Linked DNA regions of Homo sapiens: region 2 is linked to region 1. Evidence: promoter capture Hi-C in human tissues and cell types (Jung and others, 2019). All regions are on one chromosome and are shown on one strand. The core of a region is centred on a gene start or on the middle of the fragment in contact, and the rest is flanking DNA. Distances in the headings are between cores, read along the strand shown. Region 1 holds the start of TAF3 (TATA-box binding protein associated factor 3). Region 2 overlaps KIN (Kin17 DNA and RNA binding protein).

Region 1 (2,924 bases), core at 275-2,774:
GGTGAATCTAGTTGAAGTGTACACGTGAGTCTATGATTTTGTTTCAACTTTTCTGTAGGTTTGAAATTTTCCGAAATAAAATCCCCTCCCCTATACACAGAAAGGCAAATGAAGAGGAACAAACACCCAGGGTGGCGGCGGTAGCGGGACAGATTTGTGAAATCCAAGGCGCAAGAGAGTTTCAATGTTACAGAAGCGTTCAACATTATCAAATAGCTACAAAATAATCAAGTACGGCTAGGACTGAAAAATGTCTCATAGATTTAGCAACACAATGTTCCTGATAACTTGGGGACAGAGTGTCCAGGGAGTAAATGCAGGCACCTTGCCCTTTAGTACCTTGCTTCTCTGCAGATCGTCATTTAGCTGAAGAACCATAATTTCAGTTCTATTATTGAGTTTCCCAGACTTTGAAAAATGTGAATATCATGTTCAAAGTTCTGGAATAGTCCCTGTCGGAGGAATATAGAGCCACTCATAAACTCGCAATTTATTGGAGGAGCACATAAACTAAATACACTGTGATAAGTACAGAAGGGCATATTTAAGAAACCGCATAGTTCAGCCACTACAATCGGGCGACCTGCAGGCTGAATCTAGACTAACCGTGGGATCAGTTTGGCTTTTGAGATGTGTTCCCAATTCTGTATTTAAAAATCAAGATATTTATCCCTAAATCCGATTTCTGGCAATACTTGGATGGAGCTGGGAGAAGGCTCTGGGGTAGGCAACCGTTCCCAGGACACTCGGCCTGCGACACCGGTTTAAGGCTCGGTTTGGCCTCTGTAGGCAGCCGAGGTCCCCATCCCCCGATAGGTCACAGCCGCGATGCTCAAATCGCACACTATAGCCCACAGGCAGCTTACCTGTTTTTTTTAAAAAAAAAAAAAAAAAAAAAGTTTTATTGGAACCAGGGCTGGGATTAGAATGACATGAGTGAGTCAGGAGTTTATGGCATGGATTTGGATTTTTTTAAAAAAACTGTTAAAATATTATCGATCTTGATGACTGAGTTTTTTGAGGCCCCCATTAATTTGGCACAGAGTCCTCCTAGTTCCTGCCCTATTGCGAAGGGCTTTGAAGGGCATGCGGAACAGCTTGGACTTTATTTAATCTTTGCAGTGGCAAGCAGCTCAATACACAGATTTTTAGCTGAGGCAACACCAGCGCAGGTCTGCGTTTGGCGAGCTCCGTAAGTTCCCACGCCCCAAACTTCTCTCTAGCACATAACTCTCTAATATGACTAACGTTATTAGTGCTAACTCTCTAACCTGTCAATGTCGTATCCCAGATCCCTCGTTTGCCTCTAAAACACTGGCGTTTTCGTCACCGCTGTCCCCCAGGTGAGCGCCCCAGCACCTGCCGCCCTGGGCGCCTCCTCCACCTGCGCGCCCCACGCCCGCTTCCGGCCGGCTTCCAGGCCTCAGAGGCGATCCCGAGGAATCGTTCCGCTCCCAAGGGGCGGAGCTTTCTCATCGCCGCGCTCGGCATTCGGCTTATGCTGCCTCGCCCCGGCGGCCGTCCAGCGGGAGGCGGAGCGAGTCCAAAATGGCGGCTCTCAGGCTGGCGCGCTCCGTGCTGCTGGGGCTTTGAGGTGGTCGCCGGGGGTCCGGGGGACCCTTTCCCCGCCGCGGAAGCCCTAGAGGATGAATCGGGGACCCTGCTAAGGTCTGGCGGCGGGGCTGGAGAGCAGTGGCAGCAAGGGCTGCGGTGGCGTCCACGCAGCGGGATGTGCGAGAGTTACTCCAGGTCGTTGTTGAGGGTCTCGGTGGCGCAGATCTGCCAGGCGCTGGGCTGGGACTCGGTGCAGCTCAGCGCCTGCCACCTCCTCACGGACGTGCTGCAGCGCTATCTGCAGCAGCTGGGCCGGGGCTGCCATCGGTACTCTGAGCTCTGTGAGTACCGGGCTGGGTGCGGGAGGGCTGCCCCGGCAAGTCAAGGGTGACACCTTCGCTCTCCCTGTCCCTCCGCGTCCCCGGGGTGTGCATCCCGCACCCCGCCTCGAGATCTGCTGTTTCCTCGGCCTCCCACGTCCCTGGGCTTCCACTGCCGCTCCAAACTCTAGTCATCCTTCGGGTGCCTCTTCCTTATCCGCTAACTTCCCGCCACCAGCCCGGGAGTCGGGTCTTCGCTCCCAGCTCCACACCCTCCTACCGCTCCTCCGCTCTGAATTGTGTCTGGATCTCTCTCATTGTCTCCTGTTTGCTGCGGGTAGATCCACCCCCAGCGTGCCCTACACCCTCTTTTACCTCGGTCCTTTTTCTCCCTTGCCCGCAAACTACTACAACTAGTTGTCACAGGCGCTCCGTCTACCGGCCGTTTCTTACAAGACTGGCCATTCCTGGGCTCCTAACTACATAGACTCGTTGACAGCTCTGCTCCGTTAGGGACACTGCCTCGTCTTTCTGTATCTGTTCGTTTCGTGAACGACATCTCCATTTACTGTTTTTCCAAGGCTGACTTTGTCAGTTTCGCTGATTAGATGTACTTTCACTTACGTCTCGGTTACCAGTGAGATGTCAGTGGCTATCGAAGTAGGATAGAGGGACCGTGGGCAGTTGACAAGATTCTCCAGGTAATCTGGGCTACAGTACTTATGAGTTTTAAATGAATGTCTGGTAATATCTATAGCTAGTGGTATTTAATAATTTAATGGAAGGAATGGAATATTTTAATAGAAGCTCCACATTATCTTGTTGATGTGAAGCATTGTATGTGTGTTTGTTGAGGAGAGGAAACTACCACTCATTTTAGTTTCAAGTCATGATGTTTAAGGTGGTGAGCTGGAGAACTGAATGAAGTGTTTCATAGGATATTTTGTTTTGTTAAAGTGGTTCCTATACTGGAAAATTGAGACTCACAGACACACGCTGTATTTCTTAGGCCCCAAGTTTCGTTCCCGCTTCCACAGGGCTGCCAAAATA
Region 2 (2,824 bases), core at 288-2,787, 64 kb before region 1:
GCCTCATTTCATTCTGAAATAATTTCAGAAAGACGTTGGAGAATTAAATGTGGGAGGCAGACATGAAACATTTTTTCTCTGAAGAAAACCACCAAGTTGATTCCAAACGTACATACTTGGGGGAGGCATATGTAATTTGTCTGGTTTTACTCATCACTATTTGTTATCAGGGAGAACCATTCTCCTTTTTGAAATTCTTCAGACCAGATTCTTAGTAGTCCAGGCTCAACTTCTTGGCTTCATTTCTGGACATGACCACTCACTGCCATTTATTCAATACCTACTATGTGCTGGACTTCATGTCTGATGATTTATATGTATTTTCTGTAGGTCTCCCATCAACCCTGCTGAAAAACATTTTGACAATTTATACATTAAAAACATTGCAATTCAAGAACATTAACATTCTAATATTACAAAGCCAATGAACAGAACTGCCAGAATTTGATCTAAAGACTGCCCACACCCAAAACCCAGTTGCTTTCCATAATGTGCTGTCAGGTTACTTTGGAAAAACCTTAATTCATCCCTGAGGAACATTTTCTGTAAAGCTTCTGCCATCATCCTATTAGTATTTCTTTACTGCCTCTTACATTTCTGCTAACAGCATACGTTCTCCCATCTTCTGAGAATAGAAGCAATCAGCCCTCCCTGACTCTCAGTTAAAGAGAGAGATCCCAGGGTTTGGCACCATACCTGTGTCTGACGTCAGCTTATACCCATCCTCATGTTTGAAGTGATCATCCTGGTATGGTCTGTTTTTTGTTTGAACTCTTGTAGAAGATCAACTCAGGCAAGGCGTGGTAGCTCACACCTGTAATCACAACATTTTAGAAGGCCGAGGCAGGAGGATTGCTTGAGCTCAAGAGTTTGAGACCAGCCTGGGCAACATAGCAAGACCTCATCTCTACTAAAAATCAAAAAAATTAGCCAGGCATGGTAGTGCATGCCTGTAGTCCCAGCTACTCGGGAGGCTGAGGTGGGAGAATCAATGACCTAAGCCCAGGAGGACGAGGCTGCAGTGAGCCATGATTGTGCCACTGCACTCCAGGCTGGATGACAGAGCAAGACCCTATCTCAAAAAACAGAACAAAAAAAAAGAGGCGTAGTGGCTCATGCCTGTAATCCCAGCACTTTGGGAGGCTGAGGCGGGCAGATCATAAGGTCAAGAGATCGAGACCATCCTGGCCAACATGGTGAAACCTCATCTCTTCTAAAATTACAAAAATTAGCTGGGCGTGGTGGCGCATGCCTGTAGTCCCAGCTACTCAGGAGGCTGAGGCAGGAGAATGGCTTGAACCCGGGAGGTGGAGGTTGCAGTGAGCCGAGATTGCACTACTGCAATCAGCCTGGGTGACAGAGTGAGACTCTGTGTCAGAAAAAAAAAAAAAAAGAAAAAGAAAAGATAGATCATCTCTCTCTTCCCGGTGCTGCTGAAGGGTAAGATGTAAACCTAGAGTGCTCAAGAATGTAAATGTAGAGAGCCAGCACAGGAGCCAGAGACAGAGCGGAAGCCCAGGGAAGGCTGTTCACACCCGGTCCCGCTGCCCTGGAAGCTAGCGTCTGCTCCTTTCAGTCATGTGCACTACAAATATCCCTTCGTTTTTCCTTTGGCACAGGCAAATGTGGGTTTCCTGTCTTTTGCATTCCCTAATAATACACTGCCCTACTTATTTCAAACTGTATGGTTAGGCAGGGTGCTGTGGCTCACACCTGCAATCCTAGCACTTTGGGAGGCTGAGGCAGGAGGATCACTTGAGCCCAGGAGTTTGACAGCAGCCTGGGCAACACAGTGAGACCATGTCTCTAAAAGTAAAAAAATTAAAAACAAATAAAACTATAGTTCAACATTGCTGGTAGGACTGTAAAATGGTATAGCTGCTCTGGAAGAGTTTGGCAGAAGCGAAAGCTTCTGTTCACATAAAATCCTGTAAATGGGTGATCATGGCAGCATTATTCACAATAGCCAAAAAGTAGAAACAATCTAAATGTTTATCAGCTGATGAATGGACAAACAAAATACGGTACATCCATACAGTGGAATATTAAGCAGCCATAAAAACAAATGAAGCACGCCTACATGCTACTGCATGGATAAACCTTGAAAACATGATGCTAAGTGTAAGAAGCCAGTCATAAAAGATCACATATTATATGATTCCATTTATAAGAAATGTCCAGAAAGGGCAAATCCATAGAGACAGAAAGTACATTAGTGGCTGTCTAGGGCTAGGGCAGAGGGGAAAAATAGCGATTGACTATTAAAGGGTTTCATTTTGGGGTATGAAAGTGTTTTAAAATCAGACAGTGGTGATGGCTGCACAATTCTGCAAAAATACTAAAAACCACTGAATTGTATGTATATTTTAAATGAGTGAACTGTATGGTATATGAATTATTACCACAATAAAGCTGCTTCTATATTTATAGTTTGACATTTAAAATTTAGTCACACTTAGAGTTCAACTTTACTACTCTACTACTGAAAATATAGAGTGTATGAAGGATTTCCTCCAATTACATGATTCTAAATTGTCATAGATAAAACACTTTATAATAACATTCTTTAATGAAGATATAAACTCATCAAGTAAATTACAAAGGAAACAAAAATAACAAGGACAAAATTACATAGTTTGATACCTCATGAGACATAATTAAATTCTTCTCAAAGTTTAGCTGAACAACTATACAGTAATATTTTCAAAAACCTGTTTGTTTTATACAAAAGAATATACCCTAACACAGTAGAGTCTCATAATGCCTTGGCGAACACCAATTTGATGCTTTAAGATTTTAATGTATTGTTAACAAATTTTCAAAC

Evidence for each region. The method cuts DNA at HindIII sites, captures the fragments that hold promoters and counts their contacts. A contact is called where the count stands out against the background at its distance.
Region 2: a contact is called between a fragment that was not itself captured here and the fragment with the promoter of TAF3 in region 1, in 1 of the 25 tissues and cell types used here (spleen).

Annotation. Positions count from the first base shown.
Region 1 is chr10:7,816,981-7,819,904 of GRCh38, forward strand. It overlaps TAF3 (TATA-box binding protein associated factor 3), which reads left to right and starts at 1,525. Exons shown (of 7, transcript NM_031923.4): 1 at 1,525-1,895. The coding sequence starts at 1,730. It overlaps LOC105376392 (a long non-coding RNA gene), which reads right to left and starts at 1,383. Exons shown (of 3, transcript XR_001747356.1): 1 at 1,272-1,383. RefSeq lists enhancers at 1,201-1,719, 1,532-1,591, 1,720-2,237. The HindIII fragment of the contact is 13,699 bases long and covers 1-2,924 here.
Region 2 is chr10:7,753,256-7,756,079 of GRCh38, forward strand. It overlaps KIN (Kin17 DNA and RNA binding protein), which reads right to left. Exons shown (of 13, transcript NM_012311.4): 13 at 1-2,824. Among named protein-coding and RNA genes, the nearest start is that of KIN, 33 kb to the right of the region's middle. The HindIII fragment of the contact is 4,534 bases long and covers 1-2,824 here.